Regions from separate parts of the Homo sapiens genome. Here region 1 is linked to region 2. The links are contacts of gene promoters, found by promoter capture Hi-C in blood cells and fetal thymus (Javierre and others, 2016). All regions are on one chromosome and are shown on one strand. Each heading gives the region's core, a stretch centred on a gene start or on the middle of the fragment in contact. The rest is flanking DNA. Distances are from core to core; before and after follow the strand shown.

The links. Contacts are between HindIII fragments. The CHiCAGO score rates a contact against its expected background, and 5 or more counts as called.
Region 1: a fragment that was not itself captured here is called in contact with the fragment with the promoter of PEX16 in region 2 in 1 of 17 cell types (neutrophils); the score reaches 5.2 in neutrophils.

What each region holds. Positions count from the first base shown.
Region 1 is chr11:46,598,000-46,600,699 of GRCh38, reverse strand. No RefSeq gene overlaps it. Among named protein-coding and RNA genes, the nearest start is that of AMBRA1, 5.3 kb to the right of the region's middle. The HindIII fragment of the contact is 5,019 bases long and covers 1-2,700 here.
Region 2 is chr11:45,916,494-45,919,193 of GRCh38, reverse strand. It overlaps PEX16 (peroxisomal biogenesis factor 16), which reads left to right and starts at 1,317. Exons shown (of 11, transcript NM_004813.4): 1 at 1,317-1,494; 2 at 1,701-1,736. The coding sequence starts at 1,383. RefSeq lists enhancers at 1,493-1,562, 1,509-2,261. The HindIII fragment of the contact is 21,028 bases long and covers 1-2,700 here.

The DNA of each region.
Region 1 (2,700 bases), core at 77-2,576, 680 kb before region 2:
GCTGACAGTGTTTTTCCCTGGGAGCATTTTATTTTCTAATAATCCCACAGGGAAACTCTTCAGATCTACACCTTTAACCTCCTTTCAACCTGTGGTTTTGCAGGCCAGGATTTTTTTTTTTCTTTTGTCATTGGTTAGTTATTTCCCCAAAATGATGGAGGGGAAGGATCAGGGTCTGTACTTCCAAATTGCCAAGGGTGTCCTCACAGGGGCTTTTTATAAGCGTCTGAGAAAGCTGCTCCCTTTGTGGTCCTTAGTGTGGATTTATAGCTTTTTTCTGGCATGGTTTTGGGAAAGAGTCAAGGATTTTGTCTGTCTTACGTAAGCCTCATTTTCCCATAGATAACTCCATCTGGCCAGCATAGTAGTTTTCCAGATTTACCCTTAGATGTTTCAAGGCAGTAAGGTCTCAGGATATATCAAGGGAAAACAATATTGGGTGATCACCAATTTACCAATTCCAGATTATACAAAAGAGGGACCATAAACATATTCTTGGTTTAAGTTAACTGAATAGGGATGAAGCTGTTTTCCTGATCCTAGGACTGTGAAGGATCTAGACCAAGTTAATCTAACTTAGGGATAAAAAACAAGACACAATTTTAGTGGAGTCATGTAGTGAAGACATAGAAGAAGTGGGTAACGGTGAAAGAGGCTAGACAGATCATAGATATAATAAGATTTTATCTGTATCTGAAACAAACGGAAAATAGCCCAAAGACTGAGCTTCGTAGTTACTTTCCCTGGCAGTGGAGGGGAAGTTAGAAGGAGGACAAGAAAATAAGAAATGAAAGGGTTTTTGTGCATACACATGTCCTCAGGGCCCATTTTGCTCTCTAGATCCTGCCAAGATTTTCCAAAATTGTTGTGGGTATGAGAAATCACAGATTCAGGATTAAGACTTTGTTGATTATGTGGAAAGGAAGGAAAAATACTAGCTGAAGGCTGGGGACATGCTAGTTTCCCAACACATAAAATTAATAGACTTTTTTTTTAATCACACAGAAATCCTTGTTCTAAAAAAAACCTTTTTTTTTTTTTTTTTGAGACAGGGTCTTGCTCTGTTGCCAAGGCTAGAGCAGTACAGTGGAGTGATCTCGGCTTACTGCAGCCTCCACCTTCCAGGCTCAAGTGATCCTCTGACGTCAGTCTTCCGAGTAGCTGGGACTACAGGCACACACCACCATACCCAGTTAATTCTTTTTTTTTTTTTTTGTAGCAATGGGGTTTTGCTAAGTTGCCCAACCTGGTCTCGAAATCCTGGATTCAATTGATCTGCCTGCCTTGGCCTCCTAAAAGTGCTGGGATTGCATGCCCCTGTGCCCGGCCCTGAATTTTTTTTTTTTTTTTTTTTTTTTTTTTTGAGATGGAGTCTCACTCTGTCACCCAGGCTGGAGTGCAGTGGCACGATCTCGGCTCACTGCAACCTCCGCCTCCCTGGTTCAAGCTATTCTCCTGCCTCAGCTTCCCGGGTAGCTAGGATTACAGGCACGTGCCACTGTGCCCAGCTTATTTTTGTATTTTTAGTAGAGACAGGGTTTCACCATGTTGGCCAGGATGGTCTCGATCTCCTGACCTTGTGATCCGTCCGCCTCGGCCTCTTAAAGTGCTGGGATTACAGGCGTGAGCCACTGCACCCGGCCCTGAATTTTTTTAAATTAACTTTTGTAGAGACAGGGTCTCACTCTGTCACCCAGGCTGGAGTGCAGTGGTGTGATTGTAGCTTATTACAGCCTTGAACTCTTGGGCTCAAGTGATCCTCCCACCTCAGCCTCCCAAGTAGCTAGGACTAGAAGTGTACACTACCATGCCTGGCTAATTTTTTTTTGGTACAGACAGGGTCTGACTATGTTGCTCAGGCTGGTCTTGAATTCCTGGCCTCAAGCAATCCTCCTGCCTTGGCCTCTCGAAGCGCTCTGAGATTATAGGGATTACAGGCATAAAGTACCGTGCCCAGCCTAAACTTTTTTTTTAACATGACTACAGGCTGGGCACAGTGGCTCACGCCTGTAATCCCAGCACTTTGGGAGGCCGAGGTAGGCAGATCACAAGGTCAAGAGATCGAGACCATCCTGGCCAACATGGTGAAACCCCGTCTCTACTAAAAGTACAAAAATTAGCTGGGCATGGTGGCGGGCGCCTGTCATCCCAGTTACTAGGGAGGCTGAGGCAGGAGAATCACTTAAACCTGGGAGGCAGAGATTGCAGTGAGCTGAGATCCTGTCATTGCAACTCCAGCAACAAGAGCAAAACTCCAAAAAAAAAAAAAGAGAAAAAAAAATGACTACAACTGAAGGCCTCTTGTGATTGTAAAGTAGAAGAAATTAGATCTCTGGATACTGAACAGGAGAAAGGAGATTAGACTTTGAAATCATAAATTAGCAAATTTCAAAAAGGGGCCTCCCTGTTTGCCCAGCAAAACATTAAGGATCTATTATTCTGTTGACATGTTAACTTTCTCTAATCTTTATGCTGTCTTTTACAGATGGGCTGATTTCTTTGTCATTCTAGAGCCTTAAAATATTCATACATTTTGATCTATTGATAAATTTCATCACTGGAGATTTATCTTATAGAAATAATTCCAAAGAAGGGAGAGCCTTCTATCATTCTACGGCTAGCAGTTCCCTGCTGTTCTGGGCTCTCTCTCCTTCCCTGGGCTGCTCCTACGTCACTATACTACTACCTTTACCATTCCAT
Region 2 (2,700 bases), core at 68-2,567:
TAAGCTGTGGAGTAGGGTGGAGTGAGGGAGTGGAAGGAAGGTTGTGGTTTCCTGGTGAGGTGTGATGCTTAGACCTGGTCTCTAAAAATAAAATTAAAGTTAAAAAAAATGAATTAAAAAAAACCGCCTAGTCTCTGAGGTCAGAAAAGACCAACACTCAAATTTTGGCTGGGCGTTCTTAAAAGGATGCTTTCTTCATCTGGAGATATCTGGTGGAGAGGATTAGGTAAAATAATGTATTACTATTCTCAGGGTACCATAAATCCGCTGGCCCGCTCCCTCAGGCCACTGGCCCACGGCTCCACCCATGTCACGCCCCTTTCCCCGCAGCCAATCAGCGCTACCTCCCCAGAGCGCCCGTTCCCTCCACCACTCGCCGCAGATCTCCCGGTGCCACCCGTTCCAGGGAGGCTGCTTGGTTTGGGAAGATACTCCCCAGGGGTCTCCCCTTCCCTTGGGGGCGCAGCTGAGGACTGCGAGGTGCGTCCGAGGGCCAGAAAGCTGAGATCGATTCTGAGTTCAAGGATCAAGTCTGCCCTCAAACCATTTTACAGATCGGGAAATCCGAGACCCAGAGAAGGGATACTCCCGCCCAAGGGCCACCGAGCCGAGAGAAGCCCGGGCCAGGGCTTTCTTCGCGTATGTGGGAATGCAGGCGCGAGCCCTTTGGGGGGCACAGTCCATACGGGAGCTGAGGCCGAAGCCGGAGCACTAACTGTGCTGTCTAGGGGATCGAGACGGCACTAGAGGGCTGGACTCCTTACTGCCTCAGTTTCCCCAGCACTACCTTTGTTGAGGAAACGGAGATGGGGATACTGGCCGAACGCGCGCCTGCTGAGACACAGTGCAACTGTATTTAGACGCCCCGCACCTCCCCAAATCTGATCGAGGCTCCTTTTTTCAAGCACCCGCTATCTCTCAGCCCTTTAAAATCCGGCCCTGCCGTTCGAGTCTCTCGGCGTTCCATTGGAAAGACTCGGGGCTCCAGCTCCCTTCTCTAGAATGAACTGCTCTGACTGCCGCCCGGCTTTACCGGAGCTTTAACTGCGCAGGCGCAAGGGCAGCCAACCCGGTAAACGGAAGAGCTGGGTGCTGACGGCGCTGGGCGGGTCAGGGGCGGAGAGCGTGCTAACCAATGACTTGAGGGAGTAGGGGGCCGGGTTTGGGCCCTCAGTTGCTAAGGGCTACCCGAGTGGGAAGCGGTTCAAGAGATGGGGTGAAGGGTGGTTCACCGGTTCTTCAAGTCCTCAGCCTTCTGGCCCGCGGAAGTTAAGCAACCAAGAGGCGGGCCTAAGACCGGAAGCAGGAAGGAGGGCGCAGGAAGCAGGGCGCCGCAGCCTGTCGTACGGTCCTTCTGTGGGTCTGTCGGTGCCGAGGGCAGGATGGAGAAGCTGCGGCTCCTGGGCCTCCGCTACCAGGAGTACGTGACTCGTCACCCGGCCGCCACGGCCCAGCTGGAGACAGCAGTGCGGGGCTTCAGTTACCTGCTGGCAGGTGCCACCCTGACCTTTGATCAGTTCCTTCTGGGCCCTGACCTATGACCCCAGTGGCCCCCTTCCCTGCGGAGTCAGGGTAGTGATCGCTGTGCTTGAGAAGACCCGTCCAGGTTCCCAAAGGGCGTAGGGAGGGGATTTCCGGGACCCGAAGACGAAATGTGAGGCAGATGCTCACTCACACCTCCTTCTGTACCCTCTCCCCAGGTCGATTCGCCGATTCGCACGAGCTGTCAGAGCTGGGTGAGCCGGGCTCTGGGGGTGGGGGATGGGGGATCGGCTGCCTGGCCCCTGGTGAGTTCCCCAGAGAGGGTGAGCACCCCAGCCCGAGGACCTGGGCTGCCCGTTAGACACCTTGTGCTATGACTGAATCGGCACAAGGTCTGTTGTTCATTGTCCTGGGCCCTCCATGTCCCTAAGTCAAGAGACACGTCTGGGGACCTTATCTGAGTATTCACTACTGGCCAGGCGCTGGACTAAGTGCCTTTCTTACCTTTACTTGTTAATCCTCCCTACAGTCATATTAAGTGGTACTTATTGTCATCACTGTCCATTTAAGGAAGAAGCTCAGTGAGGTTAGAGAACAGTCACTGATGGTCCCAGAACCAAGATTCAAGTCTAGATCTCCCAGATTCCAGGATTCCCAGATTGTAACTACCTCAAGAGTGTTTGCCCAGTGACTGCTGTCACAGTCCTGAAAGAATGCACTGGGTTTTGAAAAGCAGAGGTGAGGCCAGGTGCAGTGGCTCACACTTGTAATCCCAGCACTTTGGGAGGCAGAGGCAGGTGGATCACGTGAGGTCAGGAGTTCGAGACCAGCCTGGCCAACATGGTGAAACCCCATCTCTACTAAAAATACAAAAATTAGCTGGGCATGGTAGCAGGTGCCTGTAGTCCCAGCTACTTGAGAGGCTGAGGCAGGAGAATTGCTTGAACCTGGGAGGCAGAGGTTGCAGTGAGCCGAGATTGTGCCATTGCACTCCAGCCTGGGCAACAAGAGTGAAACTCCGACTCAGAAAAAAGAAAAGTGGAGGTGGAATAGACCCTCAGGAACAGGCTGCCAAGAGAGAAAGGGCCAGGAGGTGGGACCGTGTATCTGTGGCAGTTCAGAGAGCGATGGGCAGTTGTGGGCAGCTGGATGACCAGTGCCATCCAGCAGGGCAGTAACTGGCTTGTCACTGAGATTGACCCATCCTTTCTTGGTCCA